Regions from separate parts of the Homo sapiens genome. Here regions 2 and 3 are each linked to region 1. Evidence: promoter capture Hi-C in 16 types of primary human blood cells and fetal thymus (Javierre and others, 2016). All regions are on one chromosome and are shown on one strand. The core of a region is centred on a gene start or on the middle of the fragment in contact, and the rest is flanking DNA. Distances in the headings are between cores, read along the strand shown.

What was found. Contacts are between HindIII fragments. The CHiCAGO score rates a contact against its expected background, and 5 or more counts as called.
Region 2: a contact is called between a fragment that was not itself captured here and the fragment with the promoter of NDUFV2 in region 1, in 2 of 17 cell types (total CD8 T cells and activated CD4 T cells). The highest score is 6.5, in total CD8 T cells.
Region 3: a contact is called between the fragment with the promoter of TWSG1 here and the fragment with the promoter of NDUFV2 in region 1, in 13 of 17 cell types (neutrophils, monocytes, fetal thymus and 10 more). The highest score is 21.2, in neutrophils.

Annotation. Positions count from the first base shown.
Region 1 is chr18:9,101,012-9,104,232 of GRCh38, forward strand. It overlaps NDUFV2 (NADH:ubiquinone oxidoreductase core subunit V2), which reads left to right and starts at 1,688. Exons shown (of 8, transcript NM_021074.5): 1 at 1,688-1,786. The coding sequence starts at 1,733. RefSeq lists a silencer at 1,416-1,775 and an enhancer at 2,048-2,757. The HindIII fragment of the contact is 6,653 bases long and covers 1-3,221 here.
Region 2 is chr18:9,236,108-9,239,487 of GRCh38, forward strand. All of the region lies in intron 8 of ANKRD12 (ankyrin repeat domain 12), which reads left to right. Among named protein-coding and RNA genes, the nearest start is that of TWSG1-DT, 97 kb to the right of the region's middle. The HindIII fragment of the contact is 429 bases long and covers 1,849-2,277 here.
Region 3 is chr18:9,332,820-9,336,338 of GRCh38, forward strand. It overlaps TWSG1 (twisted gastrulation BMP signaling modulator 1), which reads left to right and starts at 1,954. Exons shown (of 5, transcript NM_020648.6): 1 at 1,954-2,101. It overlaps TWSG1-DT (TWSG1 divergent transcript), which reads right to left and starts at 1,650. Exons shown (of 3, transcript NR_183523.1): 1 at 1,318-1,650. RefSeq lists a silencer at 1,655-2,444 and enhancers at 2,242-2,742, 2,505-2,554. The HindIII fragment of the contact is 11,774 bases long and covers 1-3,519 here.

The sequences.
Region 1 (3,221 bases), core at 438-2,937:
GGACTAATCTGGATTGGGAGTCAGAGAATGCCCTAATAAAATCCAGTAAAAGCATGCATTACAGATTCAAAAAGAATCCATATAATGTCTATCTCATCCATCAAGTATTTGTGACATGTTTTGGCTTTAGTTGTATAAGAACAGTAAGTATGTGCACAATAGTGTTAGGTGTATAAGTATTTTTATTTTTTATTTTTTATTTTTGAGACGGAGTCTCGCTCCGTCGCCCAGGCTGGAGTGCAGTGGCGCGATCTCGGCTCACTGCAAGCTCCGCCTCCCGGGTTCACGCCATTCCCCTGCCTCAGCCTCCCGAGTAGCTGGGACTACAGGCGCCTGCCACCATGCCCGGCTAATGTCTTGTATTTTCAGTAGAGACGGGGTTTCACCGTATTAGCCAGGATGGTCTCGATCTCCTGACCTCGTGATCTGCCCACCTCAGCCTCCCAAAGTGCTGGGATTACAGGCGTGAGCCACGCGCCCGGCCAGGTGTATAAGTATTTAGGTAACTTTATAACAAAATACATTTACATTAAGGGCCAGACTGTCTTTTCCTTTTAAAGGGAAATACTGAAGCTAATTTAGGAGAGGCAAACTAACATAAAATATAAGGCAAAGGAGTGGGAACCAAGGCATTTGGTATCTATTTCTAGCTCACTGGGCAGCAGTCCTCTGTGTCTTGAATTCTGTGATTTGCGAAATATGATTCATAGGGGTTGCAATGGAATATTTCTGAGTTTTTAAACTAATGAGGGATAAATTTTTAAAATCCCTGTGCTGCTGTGAATGTTCTAGAAATTATTCACAAGTTTATTATAGCAAAGAAAATGGGCAAAAGGAAGGGGGTGGGTACAGGACGTGACACTCCAGAAAAGAAGGCAGTGACGTAAAAAATCAAGAGGAAGTCCACACCAGGAAATAGTGCTGTGCACATTAGAGCTGTTACTGAATAAATACTTGTTGGAATTTCCAGAGATAACCAAACAAACATGAAGAAGGAAGTGGGTTTTTTTTTCAGCTTTATTATGGAAAATATCTAATATGTACAAAAGTACCGAGAATAGTAAATAAGAACGACCATGCAGCTTCTATGGCCTTACTTAACGGCCAACTTGCTTTATTTTTCACCTCCCGCTCCCCACTATTCTCAAGCAAATTCCAGACATCATACCATTTAACCCCTAAATATGTCGCACATATCTCTAATGCAAAAGATTGGGAACCAAGACATTTGGTGTCTATGGCTAGCACACTGGATAGCAGCCCTCTGTGTCTTGAATTCGTAACATGTAGAATAAGATTTATAGTGGGTTGCAACCCGACTTTATTTTTAACTAACAGCAATATAAGAGGAGGTGGCTAATCCTCACAAGGCTCTCCATGAGGGAAGCTCACCCCTATAAATCCAGGCGGGCGCTTCGTTACCCAGGAGCCCAAGGTGCAGCTCCGGGACGCTTCTTTTCAAGGCCGGGACCCCTGCAGCGGCCCGTAGGACACCTCCCTTTCCGAGCACGGACTGGTCCCCGCCCCTCCCCCGGGAAGTCTCCGCCCACAGGGCCCCAGCAGCCCCCGCGCGCCCTCGCTCCCTCCCGTCAGCCCCCGCCCCTCGGCGAAGGGAGCGGCGTGCCGTCCGGGTCGCCTAGGCCTGGGGTCGGGAGCGCGCACGCTGTGCGCCCTGGGCGCGCTCGGGATTCTCGCCTGGCGCGGCTGGGGAAGGTGAACAGTGTGGCCCGCCATGTTCTTCTCCGCGGCGCTCCGGGCCCGGGCGGCTGGCCTCACCGCCCACTGGGTAAGGAGGCTCAAGCTGAGCCCGGCGCTGCCGCCGCCCTTCTCTTGCTCTCCGTGTCTCCCTTAGTTTTGGGCGCAGGAGAGCCCTGGGCTCTGCACGGGCCTGCAGGCGGCGGCAAGGACACTGCGGCCTTAGCCCTCTTAGGGAGGCCGCTGCAGCCCCACCGTGAGAAGCCCCGAGGGAGGGTTGCCATACTGGGAAGTGTACTCCTAGTTTGGTCGAGGAGGACAGAAAAGAGGGGCTGCTTGGTGATATATATATATATGTTTGTTTGTTTTTGCTGTTTTGCTGTAGCGCAGAATCTAGGCCTGCTCTGGCCAGATCAGTTTCGAAGACCGTCGCTCCGAAGGAGGCACCTCTCGTTTCAAGCCTAGTGACCTCGATGCTTTTAGGTTGCAGCATACTGGAGAGCTCTGGCTTGCTTCGTGAAGGCTTAGGGAGAACTTCATTAGGGCTGGAAAAGGGTGGCCAATGTTTGATTTACTGCAGTTGTGCTTTGCATATCGGAAATGCTGGCTAAATAAACGGTATCAAACTAACTCTGAAAGAACGGCGCCGCAAATAACAGCACCCAATTAAAGAACCACAGGATTTTAGAGATTAAATGATCTTTTTGAGATCCAAGTACATCTCATGGTAGGCAAGGAAATTGAATTGCAGAGAAGTTGAAACACTCCTTCACGTTAATCTAAAAATGCAGATTTCCAGAAATGTCGATTATAACAACAGGGCCTGTTACACAAGTAATACTGGAAAGAAGCCTTAGTTTTGTTTGTTTTCTAAGAGTGAAATAGGTTAAGTCAGTTCTCAGCAAGAGGGAGCTAGTGTATATTCATTGAGAATGAATTCAGGGCTTTAGAGTTAGACTCGAGTTTGGATGTTAGCTTAACTGCCTTTTGTGGCTCTATGACTTTGTGCTGTTAATCTTCCTCAGTTTCTTCAGTTGTAAAATGGGAATATTCCTTTTTGCAGAGTTCAGTCTTTCAATAAACATTTGAAGTCTTACTGTACGTCATGCACTGCTGAGCTCTAGTTAACAGTGTGGATAATAATGATAGTCATTTGATAACTGTTTTCTGTATGCCAAGCACCGAGTTAAATATCTACATTCCACATCTCATTTTTGAGGCTGGTATTACTTTTTCCTCATATTACAGATAAGGAAAAGATTTAGACAGTTCCCGTTCTTTTGGAATTGATAGTCTCATGTAAGAGGAACTTTAAGGTTGAGACAATGTAAAAGTACAGTGTTAGAGAGATGAATAGGGTCATCCAATGTGGTTTCAAGGTGCATAAGATTTTTCCTGAAGGTAATACTAACAGATTGGGCATGGGGTCCGAGGGTATTCTAGGTGGAAAGGACAACTTAAAGTCTTGTTGGCAAGAAAAAGATCGGTATGTATGAGAAGCCACCCTCTGCTGTTGGAGGTAAGGT
Region 2 (3,380 bases), core at 813-3,312, 140 kb after region 1:
AAAAGTGGAACTAACTTAGGAAGAGGAGACAGGGAAAGTGGGGAATGAAGAAGAAAAATATAACAATGGTAAAGGATTGACATCGATATTTGAAGGAAATAACGAATGGAGCTAAAACTATAGAAAAAATTGTGAAGGTGGCAACTTTGCTTTTAGTATCTATTTTCACCTCTTCACTATCCAATAAAAATAAGTGAGCTTACCAACCCTCCAGGATTGCCTAGAAAAGTGAGAGAATGATAAATTTAAACAAACAGAATGTTAACCCACCTAAGTGAAACTATTAGAGGAAACAGCTTCAACAACAACAAAAAATGGGCACTTAAGAAAATTCAAGTACAGCATAAAAATACTTTTCTGAGCTTAAAACTCAGTTGATGAAGTGGGGGATAGTCACTGTGGAGACTTAAATTATTCAACTGGAGACTTCAATTATTAGACTGGAAAAATAAGATAAATCTCCAAAACATAGAGCAAAAATTCAAAGAGAATCATGAAAGAAAAGGTAAAAGACCTAAGGAATAGATCCAGGAGACGTAACAGAACTAACGTGTATAATAGTTATTTATAGGAATTTAAAAAGGAGAAAAACAGATGGAAGATAGATAATATTTATGCAAATAATAGAAGAAAATTTTTCTGAGCCGAAAAAGCCTATCAGTTTTGAAGTTCACTGAGCTTCAGATTGATTTGATGAAAACACACATATATACCCCTTGACATACATTGGCCAGATTCTTTAGCTATGAAGTGACAAGTTATGGGCAAAGAAATACTGTCAGGTTGGCACTGGACTTCAGATTTGCAATACTGGAAGATAGACTACTGAGAGAAAAGAACTGCAACATAAGAATCCTGTACCTGGCTGAGATACTACTCACCTGTCAGGGTAAAAGGATAATTGCAAACATTTAAAGATTTTAAAAGCATATAAATACATATATTTTCTTACACATTTTAAAAAAAGAAATAGTGGGAGAATAAACCAACAACTTATGAAGTGGTTACCTAATAAGGAAAGGGTTAAAAAGGGAGGTTATGCAAATTTTACCATCTTTTTGAAAAACAGTCTAGCAACAGCTAACAAAACTCAAGAGTCCTAGAGATACATACTTGAAATATCTATCAATGAAATGATAGGATATGAACAAGATCTTCAAAATGATACATGGATGGGGTGAATGGAGGTGTGAATTGGTCAAAGATTGATGGTCACTGGAGCTGAGACAAATTGTCTCTATAACATTCTGTCCACTTGTGTGTAAGTACAAAATTTACCATCACAAAAATGCTCTTAAAAATACTCATGCTTCATGATCTAGCAGTCAAACTTGTGGGAGTATCCTATGTTTATTATAACATTCTTTTTAGGGGCAAAAAATATAGCCATCACTAGGGGATTGGTTGATTAAATCAATGTATAGCCTCACCATAAACTATTGCACAGCCATGGAAAAGCATGTCAGTGCTGTGCCTGGAGTTGTAGGGTTACTTGAAGACATTTTTATAAGGTATTGTTGAGTTCAAAAAATCAAGAATAGTTATATCTCATTTTTGTAAAATGAACAGTGTTTTTAAAATCTGTATGTATGTTTACGTACATGTTTGTGTAAAATTTTATTAGCATGGAGCGAAATCTGGAAGGATGTATACCAGGCCATTAAGGAGACGTGTCTTAGGTAGCTAGTGGCAGAGGAGATGATGATTTGGATGGATGGAAAGGTCAAAGTACAGTCGGACACAATCATTGATAATTTTTTTACACATATATTTACAAGACTCAACAAAATCTTCTCCTGCCCTGCATCCCCGTTTATTTAATCATTTATGCCCTTCCCTTCACAACTAAGCTTCTTAAGGTACATTGTAGACTGACTCCTCCATGGAACCTAGTTTTACTAAGATTGCACATGCTGTCACTGCCAGACCCCTCAGTGGTATTTCAGTCCTTATCCTTTGAAATTCTCCATAGAATTTGACACTGTTGACCATATTCTTCCTAAAATTCTCTTGCCTTGGTTCTTGGGACAAAGTTCTCCTTGGCTTTCGTCCAGCTCCCCAGACTCTTCCTTCTCAATTTCCTCCTAGATTCTTGTCTTCGTAACTTCCTCATTTCCTTTCCATAAACACCCCTGTGTTGGTTTTCTCAAGATTTTTACTTTCTGGACCCTCTTCTCATGCTGCATACTCTCTCAAGTAAATTTCACCCACACTTAGAGTTTTTACTACCATTTATGTAATGATTTTAAAATACATCTATCTCAGACATTTCTCTTAAGCTTCAAACTTACATATTTGGCTGTTCTCTGAATATTTCCACCTGGATTTCCTCAGCAAAATCTCAAAAATCAGCATACCCCCACCATTACACTCCTCTTCGTGTTCTATCTTAATTAGTGTAACATCATTCATCTGCACATATAAGTCATACACTCGAGAGTCATCTAAACTCCTCTTCTTCCTTTTCCTTCTTTCAATTATTCAACAGCTGTTTTTGAGCACTCATTATAGGTTAGGCATTGCTTAGGTACTGAGGATACAGCTGATTAAGAAAATGGAGAAAACATAAAACATAATTGACTCCTGTCAATTTCAGCTTTCAAAATTTTTGTAAGTCCATCTTCCAGCTAAACTGAGAGTCCTTTGAACGTTTTTGTCCAGTCTAAACTGGAATAAAGATCATAATAGCTGAAATTGCATTAACTTCGGTGAGAAAGAGAGTAATATTTTAAGGCTGGGTGCAGTGGCTCACGCCTGTAATCCCAGCACTTTGGGAGGCCGAGACGGGTGAATCACCTGAGTCCAGGAGTTCAAGACCATCCCAGGCAACATGGTGAAACCCCATCTTTACAGAAAATACAAAAATTAGCAGGGCATGGTGGCACGCACCAGGAGTCCCAGCTATTCGGGATGGGGCTGAGGTAGGAGGTTCACTTGAGCCTGGGAGGTCGAGGCTGCCATGAGCTGTGTTTGCACCACTGTACTCCAACCTGGACAACAGAGTGAGACCCTGTCTCAAAGGAAAGAAAATAAGATTTTAAAGGTAAAAATTGTTTATATGATATGTTAACTGTTATGCTATTCTAAATATTACATATTTGGCTGCCCTCTGGATATTAAGAAATCTCAAAAATCGCTACTAATTCTTTTAATTGCTGTCGCTTCTGAAAATTGTAGCTATGAAAAGCAGCTTTGTTATAAACTTGCTTTTAGAAAGAAGTGCTGCAACAAATTTTCCCACGGAAGAAGGGAGGTATTTTATTTCAACTTACATGTTTAATTAGTGCAGAACACACCTTCTAGAACCTTTTTGATTTTCACTGATCTTGATTGTTTCATGTGTTCATCAGCTATGTATTGATTTTTCAGAATATTTATTT
Region 3 (3,519 bases), core at 704-3,203, 230 kb after region 1:
AAACTACATAATACATGATACTGCAACAGTTTGAATACAGAAGCAGATATAAAAACAGTGGCTATTAAGTTTGATGTTAAAGGCAATAGCAAAAATCTAAAACCACGCTGTTCTTCCTACTGTTTTAAAATATATACTTATTTTTCATTAAATATTTGTTATCATATAATGGGTTTGTTATTTTTAAATGAAATAATGAATATGTAAAAAATTGTTTTAATTTTGAAAGTATTAACAGATGTAGCACACATACACAAAACCTCTTTGGCATGCTCCATAATTTTCAGGAGTGTAAAGGGATTCCGAGACGAAAAAGTTTGAGAACCTCTGATCTGCGGTATCACTTTTTAATGGCTGAATTAGTGCATTGATCGGAAGTTTCCTAATTCACTTAACTAGTATATAATGCCAAGAATAAGATTCTTATACTTAAATTTGGGTATACCCTTAATTATTTCTCTAGGATAATTTTCAAGGATGATTTTTAAAACCCATATTTATTGTACAAAAGTGGGCTAACATCAGTAATGCAATCCACCCCCAGCCAATCAGCTGTTTTCATTCTGTTTCCTTCCAATCAACAAAGGTGGGTGGTAGGCATTTACGATTTACCAGCATAAGGGTTTGACACTAGGTCATCATTTCCAAGGGAAGGTGCCCCGCGGACGGTCTGGTCTAGCGGGCTCTAACTTAATCACCCTGGAATCTTCTTTAAAAAGCAAATTCCGGCCGGGCACTATGGTTCACACCTGTCATCCCAACGATTTAGGAGACCGCGGTGGGAGGATCGCTTGAGCCCCGAAATTTGAAACCAGCTTGGGCAACATAGCAAGACCTCCATATCTACAAAAAAATAAAATATTAGCCAGGCGTGGTGGTGCGCGCCCGTAGCCCCAGCTACTCGGGAGGCTGAGGCGGGAGGATTGCTTGAGCCTAGGAGGTGGAGGCTGCAGCGAGCCTGATGTTGTCACTGCCCTCCAGCCTGGTGAGAGTGAGACCTTGTCTCAAAAGAAAAAAAAAAAAAAGCAACCCAGAGTTGTGGGAAAGAACTGAGTGTCATTCTCAATGTTTTTAACCTACGTGCTAACCGCGCACCTTCTACCTAGGCTGCGCGACCTCCGCGCCCGGATCCATGGCGCCCCCTCTTCTCGACTCCCGATGCAGAGCTCCGATGCAGAGCTCAGCGCCAGCCACTCACAAGGAGCCTGGCAAGTTTTATCGAATTGGTGAACGAAGTTCGAAAGCTCTACCCTTGGAGATCCTTATTCAGTAGGTCTGAGGTAGACCTAGGAAACGCGCATTTTATATAAATCCTACCTCTGACGGCAAACGACAAGGGGTTCACGTGCCAGCTCTCCTCGGCGACGCGCTAGGCTACTCAGCGCCCCGAGCCTCGGCCTCGCATCGCTAGAACCCGGCCATGGCCGCTTCCTTACAGGGCAGCTGTGAGGAGTCCTGAGGAATTTTAGTACACGGCATATCCTCAGCGTAGTGGCTAGCACATCACAAGGCTTTAATCTTAACACTGTTGATCTTAACACTGCAACTGAGGGGGCCCGGAGAATGGGCCTGACAGGAGGGTCTGTCGGAACCTGAGGGACTGGGGATCCCGGTGCGGAGAAGCGCGAAGGGAAATCGCGTTGAGCAGCTGGGGTGGGTGCGCCTGGGGGCGTGGCCTGCGGGCCGGCGGGCGGGCGGGAGCCTGCGGTGGAGGCGTGGCACGAGGGAGGGGCGAAACCGGGTGGCGCGGAGGGGGCGTGGCGTTGGGAGGGGCGGGGGGAGTGGGCGGGGCCGAGATGGGGGCGTGCGCGCTGACAGGAGCGCCGGGGGAGTGAGAGACGCCTCCTGGCGGGAGCTGGCGGCTGTGGACCCCAGCGGGGGCGGAGGGGAAGAGGGGAGCAGGGGCGGGGAGCAAGGAGCCGGGAGGAGGGCGGCGGGCGGGCCTGTCTCTTTAAGGTGCCCGAGGCTCGCGGGCGCTGCGCTGAGGGGACGGCGGGAGGCGCGGCCTGGCCTCGCACTCAAAGCCGCCGCAGCGCGCCCCGGGCTCGGCCGACCCGGCGGGGATCTAGGGGTGGGCGACTTCGCGGGACCGTGGCGCATGGTGAGTGGGAGCGGCTGGGGGGTTGTGCAGCCTCTTGGCCTCTTGGTTGGGAAGGGGCCGGGCGCCGAGCTCGGCCCTCTAGAGGCCCGGGGCCGCGGCGAGCTTCGCGGGGGCCGGGAGAAGCCTGGGCCCGGCTGCGCGGAGGACAAAGTGGGGGTGCTGGGCGCGGGCGCACAGGCCGGACGCCGGGAGCCAGCAGCATCTCTGCGCCGCTTTGGTCCAGACCATCTCTGGGCCGGCCCGCGTCCTCCGCAGCCCGCGTCGGCCGAGCCGGGGTGGGGGTGGTTCCGGGTGCCCGGTCCCCCACACCGCTACCGGCCTCTGCCTCGCGGGGCGTCCGGCGCCTTCGGGGCCCTGGCACCGCTCTACAGAGGCTCGGCTCTGCCCTGGTCGCTGTCAGTGCCATCTCCCTTAACGAGAAACTTGGGCGTGATGTATGCGAAACAATTTTGATGCATGATGGTTTCTAACTCCTTAGGAAAAGATAAGTCCTTTAATTCTATTACCTGATTTCGACATGGTCGTAGTTACTTGAATACTTTTTCCAGTGAAATTTGGGGAGTAAGATGAATTTGTGGAACATTTCATAAGACAACCGTAAAAGATGGGAAAGGGGGGAAATCCCAGTTTTCATGGTTGTAGGATGAAAACTAGTTCCACGACAGTTAGTCTCCAAATAACCTTATTTGGCCTCCGCAAATATGTACTGGTTGCTCCAGAAATCATCCTACTTGGTATGCGGCGTTAGATACATTAGAAAATTAGTTACTAACGGTCTTTAGGGAATGCTTTGTGAGCCTCAGTAACGATCACCAGGGTTTTCTCTTTCAAAATTGACTCATACCAGGTCCAAAGCCCTTTATTCTTTTCACCCTTTTATTATTTTTCCTTTAATGTACTTTGTAACACTTAGAATAAAAGTTTAGAGTAATCATAAATGCCCCCATAAACTCACTATTTATCCCTCTTACGTCAGTAGTCATTTATTTTAATTTATTATGTTTGATAGGGAGGTGTTTTAACCTGAAGAAATGATATCTTCCCGTATTTAAAGTTTAATAACTGTATACTGTTTGGCCCCTGTCAGACTGTGTTTGTGCTAGTCTTTTTTCCTTCTTCTTTTTGAACTGTAGTATCTTCTTAATAACTTTGAAGAATGTGTGGTACTAATAGAATTAAAAGAATATCTTGGCCGGGCGCGGTAGCTCACCCCTGTAATCCCACACTTTGGGAGGCCGAGGCGGGTGGATCACCTGAGGTCAGGAGATCGAGACCAGCCTGGCCAATATGGTGAAACCCCGTCTCTACTAAAAATACAAAAATTAGCGGGGCGTGGTGATAGGCTCCTGTGATCCCAGCTACTCGGGAGGCTGAGACAGGAGAATCGCATGAACCCGGGAGGCGGAGGTTGCAGTGAG